Linked DNA regions of Homo sapiens: regions 1, 2, 4 and 5 are each linked to region 3. Evidence: promoter capture Hi-C in 16 types of primary human blood cells and fetal thymus (Javierre and others, 2016). All regions are on one chromosome and are shown on one strand. Each heading gives the region's core, a stretch centred on a gene start or on the middle of the fragment in contact. The rest is flanking DNA. Distances are from core to core; before and after follow the strand shown.

The links. Contacts are between HindIII fragments. The CHiCAGO score rates a contact against its expected background, and 5 or more counts as called.
Region 1: a contact is called between a fragment that was not itself captured here and the fragment with the promoter of RERE-AS1 in region 3, in 3 of 17 cell types (total B cells, endothelial precursors and naive B cells). The highest score is 6.7, in total B cells.
Region 2: a contact is called between a fragment that was not itself captured here and the fragment with the promoter of RERE-AS1 in region 3, in 2 of 17 cell types (naive B cells and activated CD4 T cells). The highest score is 5.7, in naive B cells.
Region 4: a fragment that was not itself captured here is called in contact with the fragment with the promoter of RERE-AS1 in region 3 in 1 of 17 cell types (naive B cells); the score reaches 5.3 in naive B cells.
Region 5: a contact is called between a fragment that was not itself captured here and the fragment with the promoter of RERE-AS1 in region 3, in 1 of 17 cell types (total B cells). The highest score is 5.8, in total B cells.

The regions. Positions count from the first base shown.
Region 1 is chr1:8,665,543-8,670,927 of GRCh38, forward strand. The region is part of intron 1 of RERE (arginine-glutamic acid dipeptide repeats); the gene reads right to left. Among named protein-coding and RNA genes, the nearest start is that of RERE, 150 kb to the right of the region's middle. The HindIII fragment of the contact is 577 bases long and covers 2,214-2,790 here.
Region 2 is chr1:8,550,132-8,555,300 of GRCh38, forward strand. The region is part of intron 6 of RERE (arginine-glutamic acid dipeptide repeats); the gene reads right to left. Among named protein-coding and RNA genes, the nearest start is that of SNORD128, 58 kb to the left of the region's middle. The HindIII fragment of the contact is 2,228 bases long and covers 2,622-4,849 here.
Region 3 is chr1:8,422,771-8,428,393 of GRCh38, forward strand. It overlaps RERE-AS1 (RERE antisense RNA 1), which reads left to right and starts at 1,875. Exons shown (of 4, transcript NR_125999.1): 1 at 1,875-1,931. RERE (arginine-glutamic acid dipeptide repeats) reads right to left here. Exons shown (of 23, transcript NM_001042681.2): 12 at 1-37. RefSeq lists silencers at 675-1,014, 1,325-1,464 and an enhancer at 4,993-5,232. The HindIII fragment of the contact is 3,073 bases long and covers 1,512-4,584 here.
Region 4 is chr1:8,572,998-8,578,579 of GRCh38, forward strand. The region is part of intron 4 of RERE (arginine-glutamic acid dipeptide repeats); the gene reads right to left. Among named protein-coding and RNA genes, the nearest start is that of SNORD128, 81 kb to the left of the region's middle. The HindIII fragment of the contact is 8,245 bases long and covers 1-5,582 here.
Region 5 is chr1:8,642,632-8,647,688 of GRCh38, forward strand. The region is part of intron 2 of RERE (arginine-glutamic acid dipeptide repeats); the gene reads right to left. Among named protein-coding and RNA genes, the nearest start is that of SNORD128, 150 kb to the left of the region's middle. RefSeq lists a silencer at 1,018-1,147. The HindIII fragment of the contact is 4,798 bases long and covers 1-4,736 here.

The DNA.
Region 1 (5,385 bases), core at 1,252-3,751, 240 kb after region 3:
TTCATAAACCATGAGTAGGATAAGGAGACGCAAAGAGAAGGCGAAAGACAGTCCAGGTGGGAGGAACTTCACTTAAGAGAGTGTTCAGTTAAATAGCAGCTACAGGGGAAAAAGAGCAGTACAAAGTAAATTTAAGTAGAGCAGGTGGAAGGGATAATGGAATGCCCCCAAAATAATAAAGCAGCCAACACTCACTGGGCACTTAATATGCACTAAGCACTTTACACATGTTAACTCATTTAATCTTCACTATAACAAAGGTGACAATGTAATTTATGATCCAAACTGGATACATCTGAGAGAGAAAAAAGACACAACAAATAACCATGCAGGAAAAACATATGAAAGCCAGGTCATATATCCTAGCTATACCCTTATTCAGTCAGTACTACTGTTATGTATATCTTATCAATGCAAAAGTAAGCACTGAGAGGCTGAGCAAGTTGACCAAACTCACACAACTATGTGTGAGACCTAGGATATGAACCCAAGCAGCTGACTCCAGAGCCTATATGCTTAACCACAAAGCCATCCTGCCTTAAATGACATGGCCTTAAAAGCCGAGTTATCCAATACAGTAGGTTAAGTGAAAAAGGTGCTGCCAGGCTACTGAGATGAAAAGAGCAGTCTAGGAACATTCATCTTATCTGGCAGTAGGAGATGTTTTCCACCAAGAGTTGTTAGTGTCGGCCAAACAAACTTACTTTCAAATCCATATTCTCTGAGAGCCTAAGTAAGGAACCGAGGTACCTCAAGTACTTTTGCCTGTGCCATTTCTGCATTTATTGTGTATCCAAAAAATGTGTTAGCATCCTCCTTTAGGAACACAAGGCAAGGAGACAGTCCACGTGTGGAAGACCTACATGAACATCTTACTCTGCTAGCCCTGCCTCCAAGAGAAGCAGCTGCAGCCAGCATGCAGCAGAAAACCAAACAGGCACCCTACAGCTGGGCGACTTGCTTCCAAAGGGAAATCAATTTTCCTTTCCTGTTGCCTTTCATATCAACATGCCTGGGAAAGAAGACGTAATGGCTTTTGCTCTGGAAAGGGAAATGTCACTCTAACACTTGTATTCACTGAATAAGAAGTAAGGCATTCTCATAAACAGTAACCTGATGTAGAGAATACTTCAAAATATGCCAGAGAATTGCAGATGAAGCTGCAAGATATCACTGAAATATGAAGTCAGCAGATCTGCAAACTCAGACAGAAATAAAACAGCTTTTTATCTGAAAGTTATGTGGTATTGAGAGTTTTTCCATGTTTTAAAGTTCTTCCACCTGACCCAAACCAACCACATAAGCAAAGAGCTACATATACCCCTGCACGATTCTCTACCTCTGAGGTTAATGAGTAAACTCAATCAATCCTGCTAAGAGTTTATATACTCATTCTCAGAATATACGGCTTATTTAAGGAACCTAAATAACTGCAATGGGATGCCCAGGTCAAATTCAAAGAGCAGCCTTTGTGGTATCAGAGCAGAAGGCAGCAAAAAATAAACCCTTTAATGAGGACTGGGTTTAATGCTGATAGTAGCACTTCCTCATCTCCTTTGAGCTTTGGGGAAACAACTGAGAGAACTAAGATTAAAAGACTCTAATAAATAAGGCTTCTCAATTTCTTCCAAAAAGACATACTAATAACAAAACACAAGACCACTGCAGAGGGTGCAAAAGTACCCAAAACAGCAAAACTCAAGGCTACAATTAACAACCCAATTAAAACCAAGTAAGAAACGATATATAATCTTTATTATTTGAAGCAAAAATTCCCAAAGATGAGGTGCCCCAGGAGGTTTCCAATAAAAATTTAAAATCCTGTCTTTCTTTAAAAAACACACAAACTCGGCTAGGTGTGGTGGCTCATGCCTGTAATCCCAGCATGTTCGGGGGGCCGAGGCAGGAGGATCACCTGAGGTCAAGAATTTGAGACGAGCCTGGCCCACATGGCGAAATCCCATCTCTACTAAAAATACAAAAAATTAGCTGGGCATGGTGGCACGTGCCTGTAATTCCAGCTACTTGGGAGGCTGAGGCAGGAGAATTGCTTGAACCTGAGAGGCAGAGGTTGCAGTGAGCCAAGATGGCGCCACTGCACTCCAGCCTGGGCAACAGAGCAAGACTCCGTCTCAAAAAACAACAACAACAACAACAAAACCCACACAAACTCATTCATACAAATAACTGCTTTCATATACTTTTAAATGTGAAGCTTTTCCAATTATATACAGTTAGCTTGTACACTGCCAACAGTTGTGTCTCTTCTACTCAGCAGGTTAAGGGAAATACACTGCTCACTCTAAACAGGGCTTCTCAACTGAACTACAATTAACATTTGGGGACAGATAATTTTTTGTTGTGGGGGGCTATCCTGTGCATTGTAGGATATTTCGCAGCATTCCTGGCCTCAACCCATACAGATTCTAACAACGCAACCCACTGCTCCAGTGAGAACTACAAAAATATCTCCAGATACTGCCACATATCCCCTGGGGAGCAAATATGCCCACAGTTGAGAACTACTGCTTTAAACAAATTATTTGCCTATTGCAGAGATTTCAAAGGGTTAAGCATCTGTGTTGCTTCATGCAAAATTATGCTTCACTAATATGCAATCCATAAAACACCATTACGAAAACTATAGTCTGCCATGTTCTTTGTTCTCTGAAATAAACTAGACAAATTCAAAGTATTGCTTGAAACAGTAATTCCACAGATGTTTGAGGGTGAATTAGGAGAACATAATCAAATATCCTGAAAATTCTGTTGTTTACTGGCAAGTCCTGAAGCTTGCTAGGAACAGAATTACTCATAGGTGACCTGCTCTGGTCATGGGGTCAAGTGGAAGCTTCCGCTGTCACACAACTAAAGAGAAAACCTGGTGTCCACAAATGCCAAGGGCAAGGGAAGCCAAATGCCGATGAAACCAAATCCCTGATCTTGAAAGGGGAAAAGAATCCCTAAACTCACTTTCCCAAAGCATGGCTGTAAACAGAAAACCAAGTGGAAAAGATAAATGCAAAACACAAGCAGATGGGTAAATAAAGTGTAGTATACATACACACAATAAAATATCCAGCAATAAGAAATGAGGTACAGATATATGTTACAACATGGGTGAACCTTGAAAACATTATGCTAAATGAAAAGAGCCAGTCACAAAAGATTAGATACTATATGATTCCACTTGTAATAAATGTACAGAAAAGACAGATCCATAGGGACAGAGAGCAGATTACTTGTTGCCTAGGGTTGCAAGGGTAAATACAGAGTAACTGCTATGGTTATGGGGCTGCTTCTGGGAATGATGAAAATGCCCTAAAATTGATTGTGGTGATAGTTGCCAGTATCTGTGAATATTCTAAAATGCACTAAACTCTGTGTGTGTGTGTGTGTGTGTGTGTGTGTGTGTGTGTGTTGTGTTTTTAAGACAGGGTCTCACTCTGTCTTCTGTGAATATTCTAAAATGCACTCAACTCTGTGTGTGTGTGTGTGTGTGTGTGTGTGTGTGTGTGTGTGTGTGTGTGTGTGTTGTGTTTTTAAGACAGGGTCTCACTCTGTCACCCAGGCTGGAGTGCAGTGGCATGCGTGATCACGGCTCACTGCAGCCTTGACCTACCGGGCTCAAGCAATACCCCCCCCAACTCGGCCTCTCCAGTAGCTGGGATTATAGGTGTATGCCACCACACCCGGCTAATTTTTTTGTATTCTGCAAAGATGGGGTTTCACTGTGTTGCCCAGGCTGGTTTCAAATTCCTGGGCTCAAGCAATCTGCTTGCCTTGCCCTCCAGCAATCCGCCCGCCTTGGCCTCCAAAATGCTGGGATTACAGGCATAAGCCACCATGCCCAGCCAATTGTACACTTTAAATAGGTAAATTATATGACATGTGAATTATATCTCAACAAAGCTGTTTTAAAAACAAACACACAGCAGCAGCAGCAACTGAATTACAAACTAACAAGAAAAAGCTCAGGCTTCACTACAGCCAAACAAAGGTGCATCTGGCTACGAAATTCACAAGGATGAGCTTTACCTCTGCAACTGAGAAAAACCACCTTTTAAAGCTGTAAAAACACAGTCAATTAAACTAGTAGAGTTTTATTTCACGTAATGCTGAGAATGAAAGAGAGCCTTCTTTGGACCACGGTAATCTTTAATATACAGGAATTCTTGGTCAGGCTTACTATCTCTGTATAGCATGTTCAAAAGTAGATTAAGTTGGACAGGGTTTCTTTCAGTTTGCAAAGCTCTAAGATTCAAAGTAATTTGCAACCATGGCACATAAGCTCTCAGCGTGTGATGAAAGGAAATGACAGGGTGAATTTTATATTTAACTTAATACAATTACACTTCACACCTATAGAAAAAAATCAAAAGCATTCAAAATGCACTTCTAATCCACAGGTACAAATTATATCAAAGGAAAAATGGAACCACAAAACTCATCGGAGCAGCTCTTTTAAACACTTAGAATCTCTAAGTCTAAGATAAAAGGCAAACTGGCTCTGACTAAAAACACAAGTCTCAGTCAAAATTCAATTTGCTGTTTTCTATGTCTGAGCCATTCTAACTGGGTGTGATTCTAGGTTGACCAAATGTATTAACCCTGCTCTCTCTGTTAACCTGATGTCATTCAAAAAGAAAAGCAGAAGAGCCACTAGAACAACTCAATTAAGATGCCAGCAACTAGTAACTAACCAGGGAGGGCAGGAGAAGTCCCAGGACCTAGAACATAACACTTAAATGTAGTTATAACACTGATCATCAAATAAACATCAATCTCCAGAGGAGATTCTGTCAGTTCCCCCATTATTTCAGCAAATGTTTACTGAGTTCATACTAGGTGGCCTAGGAGCTATGTCCAGAACACACACAATCTCTAACCTCAGAGAGATTACAATCTAGTGGGGGAGAGAGCAGACAATAAACAAACAAGTAGATTACTACAGACACAGTCTGTAAGTTGGCCATAAGATGTGCTATAGAAAAAAAATAAAGCTGGGCAATGGCCATGGAGAGGTCATCAATTTAAGGTAATCACTGGCAAGGGATCACTGGACCTAAACGAAGCAAGGTGCAAGTTACATGGTTAAAGTGGGGGAAAGCATTCTGGGCAGAGAGAAAAGCAAGCACAAAGTTCTGACTCAGGCAGAAGCATGCCTGGCATGTCCAGGCAACAGCAAAGGGACATGGTGGCTGAAGCAGTGAGCGCAAGAAGAATTGGAGATGGAGAGATAGCTCAGTACTTACTCAAATAAGGGAAAAGCCATGGTGGAGTTTTGCATAGAGAAGTAACAATCCGAGGTACATTTTAACAGACTCCCTCTGGCTCCTTAGGAAACAACTCAGGCAAGGTCGTAGCAGTGAAGGTGTTAAGCAG
Region 2 (5,169 bases), core at 2,486-4,985, 130 kb after region 3:
GGGATATATTGAACCTGAGTACTTGTAACTTTGCTGTGTGTCTAAAAATAGCTCCAAATAAAAGAAAGTTTTTCAAATACTATGAAGTACTCAAGGGCAGACGGAATATCTTACTGGGTAGGTTCCCATCACCAAATATAGAGCCCTTCATCTACTAGTAGATTAATAAAAAGTGTTAAATGATGAATGAATAAATAAAGCAATTGACAGGTTATGATGTCTAATGAAGTACTAAGCATGTATAGACAAAACAATAAAAATGCTGTAGGTCAAAGTTATTTCACATATAAAAACAACTGTAGATTAAAGCCAGATAAGGATTCTTAAACTGCAAAACTAAGAGCTCTGAGACACCATGAAACTCCTTACAGAACTTGCAGGAGCTAAAGGGTGTTTTTTGTTGTTGTTGTTGTTGTTGTTTTTTGTTTTTTTTGAGACAGAGTCTCGCTCTGTCACCCAGGCTGGAGTGCAGTGGCACGATCTTGGCTCACTGCAACCTCTGCCTCCCAGGTTAAAGCGATTCTCCTGCCTCAGTCTCCCTAGTACCTGGGACTACAGGCACCAGCCACCACACTCGGCTAATTTTTTGTATTTTTAGTAGAGACGGGGTTTTGCCATGTTGGCCAGGCTGGTCTTGAACTCCTGACCTCAGGTGATCTGCCCACCTTGGCCTCCCAAAGTGCTGGGATTACAGGCGTGAGCCACCGTGCCCGGCCACTAAAGGATTTTTAAATGTTTTAAGGAATGGTTGGGAAACTGTCCACAGATGTGACTAATCTGTTTCAAGCCCTAAACATATACATGAACCTAGTTGCTCATAACAAAGTAGGGAGATAAATTAATTTATAATGAAAAGAAACAGACTGGAAGCCTCAAACAGCTAATTTAGGGCTCCTTGGCCCTGGTCTTCCAGAAAATTCATCCTAAAGCATCTTCCTATAATAGGAGCCCCTGGGTAAAATGACAGCCTATAACCTGACCTGCAGTAGGATATTTCTTTCCCCAAGTGACTCCTCCAAATAGGAAGCAGGTAATCAGAAAGCTGGAAAACAGTCCTCAGTCAGCAAGACACTTACGATCTCCTGTGCTGCCCTCCACAATCAATACTGGAGAATGCACTGATGCGAGTACACAATAAACCCAAGAATGTTCCCCAGGTCACATGTCCTCAGTCCAATCACAAAGCAATCACTCCAGATCCTTGGATCCTTAATAAAACATTATCCTTAGGGGAGAAAAAGTAGCACAGAAAACAAATTACAAGTTACAAGTTTATCTGCTCGTTCTTGGAGTGTGTTGAGATAGCTCCCTAAGCTGAACTCTTCTCCATATACCTGAAGGAATCTAAATATCTAATCCCTCCTCCGCCAACAGGCCACAGAGAAATAGTAAAATAAGTGTATGCTGAGTGATTACACCATCATTAACTCAGTACAAAATTACACTTAATTTCACTTTTTCTTTTCTTCCACTTATACTTTTAAGAACTCAGCAGAAATTCAATGAGCTATGGAGTGTACTACACATGTTACTAGGGCCTGAGATGCTCTTTGAGGGACTTTCACACTCCTTACCATACTGGATGTGGAACCAGATGTGTGTGTTTGGTTCAGGATTCTGTCATTAGTCATGTGACCTTGAACAAGTTTGTCAAAGGTTAGCTCAAACGTTAAAAAACGTGACACTGGCCACAAGGCTACAGCAGAGCCAGGACTCAAACACAAGTCCTCTAACTTCAGTCTATTATACCACAATGCCAGCCAAAAATTCTTACCCGGGAATAAACAGAACTCAAAAAATATTCAAAATGCTAACTTTACTCTATGGTGGTTATGGATAAAGTGTGATGAAATAAGATCAGCAGCTGTAGAAACTTACCTTGAAAGGTAGAGATAAGGGATAGCTAAGGTCAAGAATTCAAAACTAACAGCAATGCAGTAATGCTGAACTTCAACACACATTTCTACAACTGCGAAGGGCTCAGATTTTCTTATAGGAAGAAACTCTGGTAGGAAAAAGCTATAATCTCACAATTTACAAAGAAACTACAGGGCATTTTGTTTTCCTTTTGATTCACCATGGCTAAAGGATAAAGCTCTCTCTCCTCCTTTATAACCCAACTCTAGCACCAGCTTGAAAGCAAACCTTATACATCAGTTTCCTCCTGAGTGAATGGAATGGCAAGAGCCCCCTCAGAGTTACTGTGACCGGATGAAACCACACAACCGAGCCCTTTGATCTTCAAGAAGAATGGTGCTAAGCACTAACATGATCAGTCTTTTTCTTTTTTCTTTTTTGTTCCCCATGGTTTTTTTCATTACATTTGTTTGATCCCTTTTCATGTGCCCACAGACTATTTTATTTGTATCTCTCTCAAAATTGAATTTATTTTTAGTAGTACTGGTTTATAACTATGGAGAAAGAATAAATTATTTCTGTGAATAAACTATGAGAAGAAAATTGGAAAAAAAAGGTAAAGCTTAACTTTAACCATCCCCCACCAAATACACCCCAAACATTTTTTAAGCTAATCTACCTTCGTGAAGAGAAAGAGAACAAACAGAGACTGCTGGGGGGCACTGCCATCCCATTCTGTTTTATGGGAGTAATGGGACAGGCAAAGCTTCTTTCACAGTGAGCGCTGCTGCCAAGAGCGAGGCCGGATCACTAAGTGACAGCAACGCGACCCTGCACCATTAGGGAAGTGCGTCCACACACACGTGTGACCCTGCACCACTGGGCCAGCACGTCCACACACACACAAAACTGCACCACTAGGCCAGTGCGTTCACACACACGTGACACCACACCACTAGGCCAGCAAGTCCACAAACACTCATGACACCACACCAGTAGGCCAGCTCGTCCACACACATGTGTGCAACACTGCACCACTAGGCCAGCATGTCCACACACACGTGACACACCAGTAGGCCAGTGTGTCCACATATACGCGTGCAACACAGCACCACTAGGCCAGTACATCCACAAACAATCGTGACACCACACAAGTAGGCCAGTGCATCCACACATGCGTGTGCGACACACCACTAGGCCAGTGCGTCCACACACACGTGCAAAATTGCACCATTAGGCCAGCATGTCCACATGCATATGAGACACTGCACCATTAAGCCAGTGCGTCCACACACACGTGACACTACACTACTAGGCCGGCACGTCCACACACTCATGCAAAATTGCACCACTAGGCCAGCACATCCACACACACACGTAAAATTGCACCATTAGGCCAGCGCGTCCACATGCACGAGACACTGCACCACAAAGCCAGCGTGTCCACACACACGTGACACTGCACCACTGGATCAGCACATCCACACACTCACGCGACACTGCACCATTAGGCCAGCTTGTTCAGTGACCAAACAACCACCTGTCATCTGATGTCTTTGAAAAAAATCCAAGTCACAAAAGGATGTTGTATTTGACACTTACAAAATCAAATTCAAGGTAAAAGTTTTATAAAGCAGCTACCACTTTTTATGACCACTTTAAAGAAAACACCACAGGAGAAAAAAAAACTAATTAATGAGGATTATAATTATATACCCAGTGAAAAGAAGATAAAGTATTACCACTGTAGCACTCCAGCTGTGGTGGCCAGTGAAAGGACAGTGACTTACACATTTACACATCTCCAAGAAACATCTGATTGTAAACTTAGCTACAGTAAATTCATGGAAATCAGATGGAATTATTTAGGATAACTTGTTCTTCTAAAAATGCTAAAGATAAAAATGGGCCAGACGTGGTGGCTCATGCCTGTAATCCCAGCACTTTGGGAGGCTGAGGTGGGTGATCACTTGAGGTCAGGAGTTCAAGACCAGCCTGGCCAAGATGGTGAAACCCTGTCTCTACTAAAAATACAAAAATTAGCTGGGCATCGTGGCACATGCCTGTAGTCCCAGCTACTCGGGAGACTGAGGTAGGAGAATGAATCACTTGAACCCAGGAGGCGGAGGTTGCAGTAAAGTGAGCCAAGATCAAGCCACTGAGCTCCAGCCTGGGTGACAGAGCAACACCCCGTCTCAGAAAAAAAGATTCTACAAATCTCAATACCAATGATAAGTACTCAAATATGTTGATTTTAAGCATTTATGTCAAAACATGTTGAATACAGTTACATATCTCACATATTTGTTCAACTGAAACTCTAAATCGATTAAAATCTTTTCCCTCAACCCGTGAGACAAGACGGAAACAGGAAGGAAAGAGTATGCAAACCAGTGTAAGAAGTATTCCAGGATTTGGCTGAGTGCGGTGGTTCACACTTGCAATCCCAGCACTTTGGGAGGTCAAAGTGGGTGGATTGCTTAAGTTTAGGAGTTCAAGACCAGCCTGGGCAAGATGGTAAAAGCTCATCTCTATGAAAAATACAAAAATTAGCCAGGTGTGGTGGTGCACACCTGTAGTCCCAGCTACTTGGGGAGGTAGGATTGCCTGAGCCCAGGAGTTTGAGGCTGCAGTGAGCCATAATCTCACCACTGCACTCCAGGCTGGACAACAGAGCGAGATCCTGTCTCAAAAAAAAAAAAAAAAAAAAGACAAGAAATATTCCAGGATTAAGTCATCGGTCCCAGCTAACAATATTCCAGGATTAAGTCACCGGTCCCAGGTAACAATATTCCAGGATTAAGTCACCGGTCCCAGCTAACAATATTCCAGGATTAAGTCACCAGTCCCAGCTAACAATATTCCAGGATTAAGTCACTGGTCCCAGCTAACAATATTCCAGGATTAAGTCACTGGTCCCAGGTAACAATTTAACTGTTCCATCAATATAATCAACCCTGCATTAACTTCCTTTGTTCAGCAAGTGAGCTTAAGCTTGGAAAGCCAATCTTAAAAGTCACACAAAGCTTGTGGAAGTTCACAAGAAGTTTATAAAACACTGAGAAACTCTCTAAATTCATCTAAATTCCTGTAAGAAGTCAAACCTAACTACATCCATGCCATACCCCACAGCAGAGTTGGCAAACTATGGCCAGAAAAGCCATATCTGGCACACCGCCTGCTTCCTGTGGCCTGAGAGAAGAGTTTTCCCATTTTTAAATGGCTGAAAAAGAAAGCAAAAGAAGAATATTTCCTGACACATGAAAATTAAATGAAACTCAAATTTCAATATCCATCAAGTTTTACTGCAGC
Region 3 (5,623 bases), core at 625-3,124:
TCTTCCCGTACTGCCTGAGTCCCTTAACGAAGCGTTTCTGTGATAAAAAGAAACAAATGGGATGTAAAAACCAAAAACAAAACAGGATGTCAGCAAAGCAAAGATATCTACAATCAGCAGAATAACAACCACAAAAAAAGTCTCGGCTAGGGAATACTGCCGAGGCTCGGAGAGTATGTCAGCAGCTCAGCTGGGACCCACTGGCCAGGGCAGGCCCCAGCTACCTTCATCAGAACCCCAATCCCACCCACCACGCAGGGCAGCGCGTTTAAGAGAAGGACGTCCTGCGTCTGAGGCTAAGAAGCAATCTGTCCCCCTCTTCCACCAGGCACACATTCTGGTGCACGAAGGTATAAATATGCTCCATGTTTTAATAAAACACAACTGCTTTCCCACCTGAGAACCAAGCTTCCCAGAAGTGTCGAGCAGAAAGGGGAAACAGAACCAAACCCGGTGACTCTTCTCCAGAAGGGAACCCTAGGGGGTTAAAAGGCCGCTTTCCTTAATCCAAAGAATTTGCCAGGAGGCACCGGAAGGCACCAGTATCACAGAAGCCCACCGGGAACACGAAAGCCAGCGGGCCTGCCCCACCGTCCGTCATTAAAAGCCACTCCGAGACACCAGAGAATAACCAGCACCCCTTCCGCCCTCCCGACGCCACTCGCCGCCCCCATCCATTTTCGCAGCAGACTCGTCCCTAACCCCAGCCCGGAGACTTTCACTTTGTCCCATGCCTCCCGAGCACCCCTCCCCGCCCCGGTGGGGGCAGCTCCTGGCTCCGAGCCCCCACCTCGGGGCTCCCAGCCTGGTCCCGGGCGGCCGACCCCAGCAGCCACAGGTAAGCGCCCGGGGTCCGGGGCGGCAAGAGGCCGTCGCCTGTCACTGGGCTCCGGCTCCACAAAGCGCAGGGCGGAGGCGGCCGCGGGTGGCTCGGCGTGTGACCGCGGCGGGGCCGCGCGGCGCGGGGCCCGGGGGGCGCGGGGCTGGGGCCGCCGCTGACGGGGGAGGAGGCAGGAGCGCGGCGCGCAGAGCCCGGCGCGGCCGCGGGCGGCTGCAAAAGGCGGCCTGGATTGCCGCCGCCCTCCTGTCCGCCAGCCGGGGCCCCGCGCCCCGGCCCCGGCCCCGCCCCCGGCCCGACCCCCACCCCGAGGCCGGAGCCTCCAGGGCACCCGGCGCTGGAATCTGTGTCCTCCTTCCGGACAGGAGAACATCAAGGCGGTAAAGCACAGAAACTTCCTCCCTACCGCAGCAAGCGTGGGGAGAGGGCGCCCACAGGGCTGGGGCCCTTCCCAGGCTGCTGGGTCTCCAGCCCACGTTCCGGATGGACGAAGTCGGCTGCGCCCCGGCCGCACGCCCTCCGCCCCAACCCCGCCTCAGCTGCGAAACGGGGGGCTGGCCCCGACGCCCCCCGCGGTCCCTTCCGGCCCGCGATTGTGGGCGGCCTCTCCCTGGCGGCCCAGGCATTAGCCTGCACTTCCCCGGCCGCCGCTTCACAACTAAATCACCGCGGAAGCTTCCCAGCCAATAAATCACCTGCCCACCGGGCAGAGGGTCCCTCCCACTCCCTGTGTTTGAGACCCGCCAGGCGGATTCAGTGAAGGGCCAGACTTAGCCTTTTAAGACCAGTCTGCAACCTCCTACTCCAGTAGTGGAGGCTTTGCGTTTTTGAATTTCACCCTTGCTGAGATATGACTCATCATTGTCAATTTTCAATATAATTCATACAGTTCGAAGGGAAAATCTCTCAAGGCACAAGAAAGCAGCAAGCTCTCCTCTAGTGTGAGGAGTGACCTTTGTTACTTGACAAAAGTATCGTTTATATGATCAACAGGCATCCTACGCTGTGTGCACACAGCATATCACCGGGAGAGACGGCACGGAAAGATGGCCCTGCCCTCAAGGAGCTGCAGTCTGCCCAGGAAGGCAGACAGGTAAACAAACCAGTCCTAGGGCCTGCAAGAAAAGCAGCAGAGGAACAAAGGGTGGTGGGTGAAGCTAGGAAGAGGAAGCAACTTACTCTGCTTGCTGATGTCTTAGAGGAAGTGACAAGGAAGAGTGTGAGCCTGCCAGGTGGGCTCCAGCAGGGCTTCCAGCAGAAGTCAGCCAGGAAAAGGCACAGGGAACATTCTGGGAACTGCAAGGAGGACAGGGTGTGCAGAATGGAGTGCCAGCAGATAAGACGAAAGAGGCAGGCAAGGATCCGGTTGCAGAGAGCCCTTCAGGCCGCACGGAAGAGTTCCTAATTGTAGGCTGGCAGAAAGGCTGAAGCTGGAGCTTTCCATGAAAAGACTGGATGAGGACTGTGCCAGTGGCAGTGTGGCCTAAGTGTAGATTAGGGACAGACCAGTTAAAGAGGCTGCTGACACAGTTCAGGTATGAGATGAGGACCTCAACTACTGGCACACTCCACCTCAGTAATCAGAATTCCTGCCGCTTAATCCATTCTTCAAGTATTCAGGTATTTACTGAGCACCTAGCTGAGAGGGGTCTAGGAAGATAATAAAGGTTGCCATGGACCTTTACTGAACTGTGATTCATTTTTGCACGTAAGATAAGTATGTGTGAAGTCATTACAGAACATTCTGAGATGTCATCTGGCCAAGCATAAAGAAGTGAGGTGCAGCTCATCAGTGCAGCAAGGGACCCAAGAAGGCTAGACTGCAGTGGTCTGTAGTAGTTCAGAATGCCTTCGCCAAGGCAGTGACATCAGCGAGATCACAAGGGGTGGGCAACTATTGCAGGGGTGGGAGGTGGCTTGGTGACCGGGCCCTCCGTGAAGGTCAGAGGTGGAGAATGGGAGGTGGGTTACAGGGGACAGTCTACACAGACTTGGGGCGGGCAATCTGGAGTGAGCCAGGCTGTGGAACGCCAGGACCATGCAATCGGAACGTGGGCTTGATACCAAGTGACATCTAACAGGTCCAGTAAAAGAGGCCTACACAATAAAGGCAGCATGTGAGAAAGGCTGACTCTGGAACATCAGGGTAAGGTGGCAGAGTTGGACAAACAAATTCAGATCCTGTTTCTTCCATTTATTGTGATGCAATCCTTTGAACATCATCCATTCAACCAATAGTTACTAAGTACCTACTATATGCCAGGAGCCTCATATATATTAATTCGAAATCTTTACAACCTAAGAAGAAGTACAATTATTATCCCCATTTTACAGACAAGGAAGCTGAGGCACAGATAGGTAACTAGATCAACTCCTCAGAGACAAAGCCAGAATTCAAACTTAAGCCCCCTCAAATCCTCAGAGCCACACTCTGTAAAATGCAGGCAGGCGTCTACAGTGGTAACTATTTTCTGTTACCATTTTCTATGAGTCTGTACTTTCCTCTTCTCGGGTCCAATGTCAAATCATAAAGTCCTCAGTATTCTTCCTAAGAAGTGTCTTTCAGCCGGGCGCGGTGGCTCATGCCTGTAATCCTAGCACTTTGGGAGGCTGAGGCGGGCAGACCACAAGGCCAGGAGATCGAGACCATCCTGGCTAACACAGTGAAACCCCGTCTCTACTAAAAATACAAAAAATTAGCTGGGCATGGTGGTGGGCGCCTGTAGTCCCAGCTACTGGGGAGGCTGAGGCAGGAGAATGGCGTCAACCCGGGAGGCGCAGCTTGCAGTGAGCCGAAATTGCGCCACTGCACTCCAGCCTGGGCGACAGAGACTCTGTCTCAAAAAAAAAAAAAAAAAAAGTGTCTTTCAACGCCCTCCTTTCCTGCTCATGCTAGTGGCAGTCCCAGGCCAGACCTTTATCTCTCTTTCCTAATAACTAGGCTATTAACCATCTCCCCCATCCAGCCATTTAAAAGCCTCTGCCAAGGAATTTTTCCCAACTATAGATTTCATCCTGAGTCCCACTTTATCTGGCCCTTAGCCCCTACCTAAGAACAGCATGGTGGTCTCTGCAGGACAGTGTTTACACTCCTTAGCCCTGAATTCAAGGCCCTCCAGGATCCTGGCCCTGCCCACCTTTCCAGCCAGATGTCCAGTAATGCCAACTGGCCCACACTGGGGGACCTCTGTCTCAACTCCAGAATCTGGGTAAGGCATCTCCACGTTCACCTCAAAATCTCTCCTACTCCCAAATGAAACCAGATGTCCAGTTACTCTCTCATTAGTTTATTTATTTGTATAAGGCCTGCTTACCCAAAAAGTCCATAAACTCTTAAAATAATTACATCTTACACCTAGTGCCTCCATATAACACTAGGCAGTTGATGCTCACCACATTTTTTGTCTCCTTTAAAAATTATTTATTTATTAACGATGAGGTCTCACTATATTGCCCAGGCTGGTCTCAAACTCCTGGCCTCAAGCAATCCTCCCGCTTTGACCTCCCAAAGTGTTGAGATTACAGGTGTGAGTCACCGCACCCGGACAAGTGAAACCAACCATGAGATGCTGAGGGCCTGGGCTAGGGTGGTCACAGTGGAAATGGACTGTTGAAAGCCAGAAGGTCCATTTTGAACTCTCCTAACAGAGCTGACCTCTTGCTCCATGATGCCAAACTCTCCTAGTTTTGCTCATACCACTTGGCCTAATTCTCTACTCAACCTCTAAATGCTGGAGTCTCCCCAAAGCTTTGTCCTAGGGCTTTCTGCTATATATATCCTCTCCCCATATGATCTCCACTGTTCCCTTGGCTCTAAATATCTTTCGAGATTGTCACTGGTATTTCTAAGACTAAATCTATGGTCCAAGTCCACTGGGAACACTCAACTTGAACGTTTCACAGGTATCTCAAACTAATTACTTCCAGAAATAGGAATTTGACATCTGGTGGTGAACACAGACCTACCACAGCTGTCAATGTATGTCAATATAATGCTATCAAGAGCAAAAGCACCCTTGGCCCCACTTTAAAAAAAAAAAAAAAAAAAAAAGGAAGTAAAAGCTTCATGTGGCCTGTACTGTTACTTCTCTATGGAAAGCCACAAGGCCTCAAAACCAGCAAAACATCTGCTTCTCAGAGACCAGCCTTTAGCTTGTGGTTTACCAGAAATGTAGAGTAGCCCTGAAAATCGAAACAAAGACGACCACTCACAGTAGTCAATGATTGGAAGGGGTCACACGTGAAAGAGACTTCTGTTGCGGCTGTCTCCTTTCCCTCTATAAATTCATCGCTCTTCAAATGAAGACCCCGAAGTTTTTAAGACTTTAACAATTAACACTATTGACTTATAAATCAACAGGCCCTATAAGCCTCTAAATGCAAGTTCATGGAGACAGTCTGTTTCTTAAGAGTCTTCTAGTTGTTGAGCTGAAATTCGGCATTTCCAGTGCTGAAATTCAAGGTCTCATGAATTATTTCTGTGTCCATTAGTTTTTCTATCACTCCCAGTGTATAGATATTAGAATAGCAGGATGCCAAGGGTAAAGGAGGAAGGAAATATAGAAGGCAAGTCACTGACTTGGCCACTGCTGCCAGCGCTGGGCAGCTCTGCTGTTTATGCTCCCCAGCTCATAGCCTGCCCACTCTCAGACGCACGAACTGAGCGTCTTGAGATGTTGGCACTTGTTTCTCTGGTGTGTTCATGCCCAACCAACCCAACTAGGTGCTGCTCCTTGGAAACATAAAACAAGTCCTTTTCTGTTTGTGTACCCCCATAGCCAGGTG
Region 4 (5,582 bases), core at 903-3,402, 150 kb after region 3:
TGATTCCATACACCAGTTTCTCTACCTACAGGACCTAGGAGGAAACCTAAATGTCTTGCTTGCTTGCTATCCTGAGCGTGTTCATGAAAACTCCCAAAGGTGGCTCTACTTTCTTGCTTTATCTTTCTTATTTTTCTTTTTAAAGTTTTATTATGAAATATTTGACAGGCAGAAAGGTATAAAAATAACAGAACCATCTGTACCAAACATACCTAAAGCAACAAAAACATTATCGAACCTAAAGAAGCTGCCTGTGGAACCTGCCTACAGCCCAGAGGTAACCACCACCTTGAATTCACTGATCATTCCCATCCAGTACTTCATGCTTTTACTTAATATATATATATAACTAAAAATACATAAGGTATTATTTTGCATGTTTTTATACTGTACATAAATGACACTAGACTCTTTGAGTTCTTCTATAATATGCTTTGTTCTTTCAGCATTACACTTACATGATCCATCCACGCCCTAGTTCACTTATTTTAAGTGACATGTATTACCTTCATATACAGCACATCACAATGTGTTCATACATTTTCCTGATAGTAGACATTTGGGTCATTTCCAGTTTTCCACCATTACAACCTTGGTTGTAATAAGTATTCCTATATATGTTTTCACACATAAAACTTTTCTATTCAAATTATTTCGATTACTCTGAATGTTTGGTATCACAGCTAAGTGTTCAAATTTTGGTATTGGTAAAATGTTGTTCACAGTGTCTTACTAAGTAATTTAAATATATATTAAAGGCTAAAAAAGTTTATGTCTAAGCATGGTTTTAGATAAAGCCATTAACTGTGATGTGTTGCCTTTTATTTCTGGAGACAGTCTCACTCTCACCCAGGCTGCAGTGCAGTGGCCCAATCACAGGTCACTGCAGCCTTGACCTCCTGGGCTCAAGCTCTCCTCCTACCTCAGCCTCCTGAGTAGCTGGGACTCCAAGCAAATGCCACCACGCCCAGCTAATTTTTGTACTTTTTATAGAGATGGGGTTTCACCATGTTGCCCAGGCTGGTCTTAAACTCCTGGGCTCAAGCAATCCTCCCTCCTCAGCCTCCCAAAGTGCTGGGATTATAGACATGAGCCACCGTGCCCAACCAATGTGTTGTATTTCCATTAATAATTCACTGCAAAATATTTTCTAATTTCCACTGTGATTTCTTATTTGACCCACAGACTATTTAGAAGAATCTGGGTTCCTTCTACACATCTGTGTATTTCCCAGGTACTCCTTTTGGTCTTGATTCCTAGCTTAGTAGCACTATGGTCACAGAACATGTTCTGTATGATTTCAATGCTCTGAAATATGTTAAGACTATGATCTATATATAGTCTTTTTTTTTTTTTTTTTTTTTTGAGACGCAGTCTCGCTCTGTCGCCCAGACTGGAGTGCAGTGGCACGATCTCGGCTCACTGCAAGCTCCGCCTCTCGGGTTCATGCCATTCTCCTGCCTCAGCCTCCCGAGTAGCTGGGACTACAGGCGCCCGCCACCACGCCCGGCTAATATATTTTTGTATTTTTAGTAGAGATAGGGTTTCATCATGTTAGCCAGGACGGTCTCAATCTCCTGACCTCATGATCCACCTGCAATATTATATAGAAATGAAAATACTGCAACTTACAAAAACATGAATTTCACAAACATGCTAAGCCAAAAAAATCAGACACGAACAAATATATATTGCATTTCATTCCCTTCATATACGAAGTACGAAGACAGACATAACTAATCTGTGATGGCAGAGCTCACAGCAGTAGTTACGCAGTTAGTGGCTAGGAGAGGGCACGAGGGTAACCTCTGGAGTGCACACATTTTATTTCTTGATACCAGAAGTTAGACAGATGTGTTCACTATATGAAAATTCACTGAGCTTTCTATTTAGAATGTTCTTTCATGAATATATATTAGACTTCAATTAAGTCTAATTTATGAAATTAAAAATTAACATCTTTCTAAAATTAAAAGTCTAATTCGCAAATGCTAAAATTTACATACACATATACACATTAACACGTATGCACATGAAGTATCTCTGGAAAGATACAAGAAGCTGGCAACAATTGTTGCCTCTGAGGAGGAGAACCCTAAAACAACTTATACCAAAAAGTAAGAAAGTGCTCAAAGAATGTGAAAGACACGCGAAACTCAGCCTGAAAGGACAGACCTGCTGGACTAGTTCTGCTAGAACAACTTGAGAATCAACACATAATGTTAGTAATAGAGTAGAAACTACAAAGAAAACCAGAAATCGTGCATCCTTGCTGATATAGGTAAATGAATAAAGTGAATAGTTGCTAAATAACCGGACACTTTCAGAGTCACAGGGCACCTTTCCATAAAATATTAACTGATAACAAAGGATGAAAAAAGTAACCTTTTTTTTTTTTTTTTTAAAGACACTGTTTTGCTGTTGTCCAGGCTGGAGTGCACTGGTGCAATCACAGTTCACTGCAGCCTCAACATCCCACTCTCAGACTCCCAAGTAGCTAGGACTACAGGCCTGTGCCACCACACCTGGCTAATTTAATATATATATATATATATATATATATATTTTTTTTTTTTTTGGCAGAGACAGTGTCTCACTATGTTGCCCAGGCTGGTCGCTAACTGCTGGCTCAAGCAATCCCCCAACCTCGGCCTCCAAAAGTGCTGGGATTAGACTTGGGCCATTGTGCCCACCTCAAAGAAATAACTTTATAATTAACTTTTGGGCCTTGTAAACCCAATCTTAAGTGATCAAAGTGAATGCCAGTAACAGAAGGAACCAAAATTGTGCCCTACTTGGCAGGGTACAAGGAAAAGATCCCAAACCTGAATCTAATAATGAAGAAATACGATACAAATGAAAACTGAGAAACATTCTACAATGTAACTGAACTGCAATATTCAAAAGTGTCAAGGTCATGAAAATCAGGGGAAGACTGAAGAACTGTTCTAAAATGAAGAGGATTAAAGAAACATAACTAAGTATATAACCTATAATTCTGATTAGATCCATTCCCTACACAGGGCATTGAAACAAAAGCCAAAATGTGTACAGGGTCTGAGGATTAGACAGTAATAATGTTATTAATGTTAATTTTTAGGTTTGATTGTTGACTTGAGGGCTACATCAGAAAATGTCCTTGTAAGAAACACACATCCATTATGTATCAGTGTGTAAAGGGGTATTTATTTGGCAACTTATTCTCCAGTGGTTCTAGGGAAAAAAAAAAAAAGTTCTCTGTGTTGTACCTGCACCTTTTCTATAGGCATGGGGTGGGTTAGATAAAAGACTGGAGAAATAAATTTTAGTGCCAATTATAAAAATATGTAACCATAGGCAGTGGTCACTAAAAGCCATTTTGACAAACAATCAGAGTTAAAACTCAGTAAATAAGAAGAAAGTTACATGTAACTGTAAGGATAAAAGCATGTTAATGCCAGCCAGTTAAAAATTAGTTTCAGGAATTTAGTCCATAATAAAGATTAAATTACAGAATAGCAGGGAAAGATGAACTATTTAATGAGTTTGTAGAGATTCCTAGAAAGTCATCTAAAAAAAATTAAGTTGTATCTATACCTCATACTGTATGATTCAAAATGATCTGAAATGAGTCTAAATGGGTCAAAGATTGAAATGTAAAGAATAAAACCATAATAAAAAAATGCAAATTAAACTTATATGAAGAATATATTGCTCATACTGGCAAATATCCAAGTTGATAACACTCTGCTGGCCAGGTTATGGGAAAAGGGTTGTCATTATGTTTTACAGAAACATAAGCTGGCACAATTGTGTTATAGAAAGAGTAACTGGGCAACATCTACCAAAATTACAAACATATTCATCTGTTTCTCCAGCACTTATTGAAATTTATTCTAAAGATACATTTGTGCTGGGCACGGTGGCTCATGCCTGTAATCCCAGCACTGTGGGAGGCCGAGGCAGGCAGATCACAAGGTCAGGAGATGGAGACCATCCTGGCTAACACGGTGAAACCCCGTCTCTACTAAAAATACAAAAAAATTAGCTGGGCGTGGTGGCGGCGCCTGTAGTCCCAGCTACTTGGGAGGCTGAGGCAGGAGAATGGCGTGAACCCGGGAGGCGGAGGTTGCAGTGAGCCAAGATGGCGCCACTGCACTCCAGCCTGGGCGACAGAGAGAGACTCAAAAAAAAAAAAAGATGAAAGAAAGAAATTTCATATGACTTTTGAATTTTTTTGTTTTTTTAAATTATATAAATGTATTACCTATTCAAAAACTATTTTTAAAAACTCACAGGGTGTTTGTTTATGTCATAGGCCTTTGCTCTCTCTCTCTCCCCTCTCTTTCTATCCTAGTATATTGCTGCTCTTTCTTTTTTATGTAGCTAGCCTTCCAGTGGATAGATGGTGTCTGACCAACAGAATTGGAACCTGCATCAGCCATATACTGTTAAGAGAATAAAACGGAACAGAAACAAGCCTGTATAATTACAGTTGGTCATGCCAACAGTCTGGTGACCAATCTTTTACACTTAAAACTTAAAGAAGTTACACGTTTTCAACTGCCTGTAGAAGAAAATCACATACTCCTTGGCCCCCCATACTCATCATGCTGACACAGATCACTTGAGCTTAAAAATGCTCACAATGTTTCTGAAAGTGAATAGGCACAGAGCCTTCAAATATGAGATCTAGAGTATCTCACTGAATATAAGATATTCCACTCAATGCTACCTTATAAAACAAGCCCTAGAATCAAAATAGCTTATCACTACATCTTATTCATTGTGAGATATACCGCTGAGGCTGGACATGCACTTTAAAAGGGAAAGAGGAGCCGGGTGCAGTGGCTCATGCCTTTAATCCCAGCACTTGGGAGGCCGAGATGGGCGATCACCTGACGTCAGGAGTTTGAAACCAGCCTGGCCAACATGGCAAAACCCTGTCTCTACCAAAAATACAAAAAAGCCAGGTGCGGTGGCGGGCGCCTGTAGTCCCAGCTGCTCAGGAAGCTGAGGCAGGAGAATGGCTTGAACCTGGGAGGCAGAGGTTGCAGTGAGCCGAGTTTGCGCCATTGCACTCCAGCCTGGATGACAGAGCAGGACTCCATCCGGGAAAGAAAAAAAAAAGGGCGGGGGGGAGAGGAAATCATTAATAAGGTGTAACTGAAACCTGTCCTGAAAGAAAGCAATGAGCACCTCTTTTTATCATAACATATTTTGTCTATGTTTCGTATTTCCACAAACTCCTCTTTGATTACAGATTATGTCTTTCCAAGAAGACTATTTGGCAGCAAAGTGCTGACAAAGTATTGATGGCAGACCTCCTTACACAAAGCCTATTAGCATTTCTATTGCTGCACTGCACACTCTGGTATTATAAATCACACACACTCAGCATCATGCCCAATAATCAAACAGTTACCTAACAACTAAGGGTATTACAAACGCATTGAACTAATCTTTGAATATATGCTGATAATTAAATTCCATTATGGTTTCTAACTTTAAACCTAAAGGCAGGCAACACTGAAATCAAGTGTCATCCACTGTGCCCTCACATATGCCATGAAATGTCATTTATATTATATAGTTCACTTCCA
Region 5 (5,057 bases), core at 1,088-3,587, 220 kb after region 3:
TTAAAAGTGATTAAAATGTTTAATTTATAAATGAGATTTATAAGCTGAATTTTTTAAAAAGTGTAACAGTGTCCTTCAATTTGCAACTTTAACAAATTGAATATCAATTTTTTTAAACCTAGGTAAACCTTCTGGACAGTCATTTCTGCATATAAATATCAATCTTAAGGACTCTTCCCAAAAAGTCCTCCCATCAACTGCTCTGTGCACATGTCTCCTACTCAACTGCTAAAGGAAGAACAGCTGAGACAATGCTACCCAAGAGAGGCACCTAGGGCTAAGCACTCACATCTAGCAGCTAACTCTGCCTGCGCTAATAGGTATCTAGGGAATGAGTAAGTGCCTAGAATGTGCTAGACACTTTTCCAAGTACCTGGGATACATCGGGGAAAAAGATCCCTGTCCTGCTGGAACCAACCAGCATGGAAAAAGACACACAACAGAAATGGAAATGGAAGATGCCATGGGTGTGAGTGACTGTGAAAGGTGGGGGGATCCAAGAATTGAAAATCCTAGTGGGCTCAAACAATTTCTGGATCAATTGGCCCCAGGAAGGTGGAAAGTTAAGAGGTAGAAGAGTGGAATCCATGAGTAGGTCATCACCAGGCTGCATTCCTGAATCTGATCATTAATTGCTCATAAAAATACCTTCAAAGATTGACCTTTCAACATGTTTTTGCTCATTATTGAGCCCAATTTTTAAACAGCCACCTAAAGAACATTTCTGTTTCCTCTGGAACACAGTTTTTGAACACACTGTGGTTCACTGCTTCTTATGTAGATATTTCTGCTATAACACAATATATGTTACTGGGAAGACCACATATTCAGCAAAAATGTTCACTAAAAATGAAAGGACTTACGTAAAATACAGGGTAAAAAGCAGACTACTCAAACCCTATGCAACTCTGAAATCAGATGGCTATTTTGTTAAAAATCAATACTTAAGAAATAAGAAACCCAGGCAGTTACCCAAGAGTGGCTGCACGCTGCCAAAGGTGATACTGAGAATACATGAAAACAACAGATGCTGGCTTGAAGGCACCAAAACAATGCAGTAATCTGGGGGTTTTTGTGAAGGTGAGCACAGCAGACAGGGCAACCTGCCACAGAGCATAATGTTAGCGTGTGCCTCTCTGGGGAGGGAACCCCAGGGGACAGGTGTTCATTTTTCATTTCATTTTCAATAGAAATGAGAAAGCTCCTGCTGATGCAACAGCCAGAGTGAAAGTTTAAATTCTCACCTATTTTTTTCCTTTCCTGCTAAAATACAATCCCACATTATACCATTAAAGTATATATTATAATTCTATTCCATCTGGTCACACTCCTCTTGCCTAGCAAAAGTTGCACATGAACCAGCATAAAGTGCACATTCTATTGACCTCACTGTTCTATTTACTTACCTATCACACACAAAGCAAAACAAACTATTGCTAAATATCCATATGCAATAACAAGGTCTCATGGCCAGCCCACATCTATTTCCCCTACCAAACTGCTTCCCAAGCTCATTGTGGGGAATAACTTTAGCCCCATCATGTGCAGGCTTGGGAAAGCAATCAATCCAGGTTTCTGTCTTTTTTTATACAAGACATGTGCATGCAATTCAAGGTAGACATACTATATTTACTCTTTTGGAACTGTGAATCTTGAGCTGAGTGACAGCAAGGACAGGAAGATCCTGAAGGGCCCTATTCCAGTTATAGCATGTGGTTGGAACGGTCAGTAGTTCCCGCCAACCAAGTACCTGAACGCTCTCGTTCCAAGTAGGTTTTGGAGGCTTTTTTCCAGCTTCCCAACCATTATGGGGGAAGCCTGTAATTATGTGAGCCACTCTAACAACACATTGCCCTTTGTGTTATGTGATCAATGTACACCACCTTGCATCAAAAAACTTTTCATGCATACAACATGCTTGCTTTTTATTAGATCATAGAAAAATGTGTATTTCTCTTTCAGTTACTTAGGGTTCAAAATCCAGTAATCACCATTAGCCTATGTATTCTTGAACAATTTACTACTCACCTTCTCAGCTTACTTCCCATAGTTTCCTTATGGACTATGTTGCCCAGGCTAGCCTCAAACTTCTGGGCTCAAGTGATCCTGCCAACTCAGTCTCCTGAGGAGCTGGGACTACAGATGCTCACCACTGTGCCTGACTAGACATACAATTTTTGGCAACAGGAGAGCTATAAATAATTTTAGGAGTAAAAGGAGAAAAGAGAAAAAGAGCAAAGTAATTATATCACTTGCATTTTCGAAGAAATCAGTCTATCTCTTCTTTTTTCTTCCACACAGGTTATTTGTTTTTTGTATTCTCTTCAGGGTTTTATGCAAATGTCCGTTCATTCTTGGCTTTAACCAGTTCTCACAGGCCCATACCATTTTACAAACCAGCTGTGTGACTTTGGCCTCCATGTCTTTGTTTCCTCATCTGTACAGCAGGGAAACAATGTCTAGGTTGTATAGGAATTTTCTAAGGACTAGAAATTACACACTCAAAGCAAATCCAGTAGATAGAAGGTGCTTTAAAACTGGTTGTCACCCATGTTGTAGCTCCCTTACTATTTACAGCCAAGTTCACAGTGCCCTTTGCAATCAGGCACTTTAGAAGATGCAAATTATTCCCAATAATTTGGCCAGAATGTAATTCTGCAGCCACCTCTGTTCTTCTTGAACTGCATGCATCATATTTTAACGTCAAAATCTCAAGCCATGAAATCACATATTTTTTCTCTAATTTTTGATCTGCCTAATTTGTAGTCTGCCACAGGTAAGTGACAAGCATGCTGGGTACTAATCCTCTCACCTCATGCAATGGACTCATTTTATATCTGCGTTAGCTTGAAAAAGACTGGGAAGCACTAATGAGTGATTAGTGACTCTCAAATCTAAACGTGTGTTTAAATCACCTGGACATCTTATTATATAAAACATGGATTTTGATTCAGCAGATTGGGGGCGGAATCTGAGATTCTGCATTTCTAACCAACTCCCATGGGATGCCAATCTGTGGCCAATGCTTGGTGCAGAGAACAACTACAGTACAGGTTTCATGATACTTAATGATCCTTTCCCTATAAAATCAAAAAAGATATGATTAATTTGTCTCAAATATCACTTCCCATTTCTCTAATTAGAATAACTTTAGTATTTTCTCTTTCCTCTATCCTCACGAAGTAATAAGTTTTTATGTGCTAAAGAATTGTCTTTCACATACGTGGAATTTGAATAACTTCCTAATATACATGAAAAGGCAATCAACTAAAAGATGAAATAAAATTTCAAAAGAAACAGAAGAAATTAAAAGTTAACTAATGTAATCCATAACTAAAAGTTCACTATAATGTGACTGAAAATAAGAACTACATTTTCCCAACTGTTCCAAAGACATACAACTAAGAGAACTGAGGAGATGTCACTCAAATGTGAAACACCTGAACCTGAGTCTACCTAACAACAAAGCTCTCAAATGTGAAACACCTGAACCTGAGTCTACCTAACAACAAAGCTCTTCCTGCCTGTTACAGGATGAGTTTGTCCTTCCCAAAATTCGTATGTTGAAGTCTTTACTCCCAATAGCTCAGAATGTGACCTTATTAAAGAACAGGTAAGGCCAGGCACAGTGGCTCATGCCCGTAATCTCAACACTTTGAGATGCTGAGGCAAGACTCCTGGCTTGAGTCCAGGAGTTCAAGACCAGCCTAGACAACAAAACAAGATCCCTTCTCTAAAAAAAAATTAGAAACTAGCTGGGCACAGTGCCGTGCACCTGTAGTTCCAGCTACTTGAGAGGCTGAGGCAGGAGGACCACTTGAGCTCGGGAGTTCAAGGCTTCAGTAAGCCGTGTTCATGTCACTGCACTGTTGTCTGGACAACAGAGTGAGACCCTTCCCCGCCACTCAAAAAAAAACAAACAAACAAAAAAAAAACAGGGTCATCATTGCCAATGTAACTAAAATAAGGACACATGAAAATATAATTACACTGTAGGTGTGATTAGTTAACATTAAGTAAGGTGAGCCCTAATCCAATATGACTGGCATCCTTACAAAAAGGAAAAATGTAGATAGACACAGAGATATGTACACAAAGAGAATGCTATGAAAGATCACCACTACGCTGCCACAAAGCAGCAAACTACTGTAAGCAAGGACAGAGGCTTGAAACAGATCCTTCCCTGGTGCCTTCAGAGGTAACATGAGGCTGGGTGGAGTGGCTCATGCCTGAAATCCCAGCACTTTGGGAGGCCAAGGTGGGCGGATAGTGTGAGCCAAGGAGTTCAAGATCAGCCTGGGCAACATGGCAAAACCTTGTCTCTACAAAAAATACAATTAGCCAGGCATGGTAATGCATGCCTATAGTCCCTGCTACTCAGGAGATTGAGGCTGCAGTGAGCAATGATCATGCCATAGCACACCATCCTGGGCGACCCTGTCTCAAAAAGAAATGAAAAAGAGGTAACACGACCCTGCCAACACCTTGCTGTTGGATGTGTGGCCTCCAGAACTGTAAGACAACATACCTCTGTTGTTTAAGCCACTCCATTTGTTATACAGCCACAGCATCCCTAACATACTAACACACAGCCACATTGTGTTTCCTCCCAAATAAGATTAACGTTGATTAAATAACATTAAAGATGATTGTGCAGATAGGCAACTAGGTCACAGAGGGTCTACAGTGCCAGGTTCTGGGAACAAACCTGCTGGTGAACAGGGAATACACTGAAAAGCTTTAAGCAGATTAATAATAGGTCTAATAAGTGCAACTGAATTTGTCACATGTCGGAAAAAAAACATTAAGCTCTGCCTAAAGATGCCTTTATGCTATGTTACACAAAAATATTCTTGCCATTATCAATAAAACTACCCCACCACAAAATATGAATGTTTCAAGAAGACACCTTCATTTGCATGTCACATCTATTAATACCTAAAATTCTTCTAAATATTGAGATGTAGATAAAAAGTTACAGATCAAATGAGCTTCTATTTAAAATATGTATGTGTGTGTGTGTGTGTGTGTGTGTGTGTGTGTGTGTCCCCTGGAAC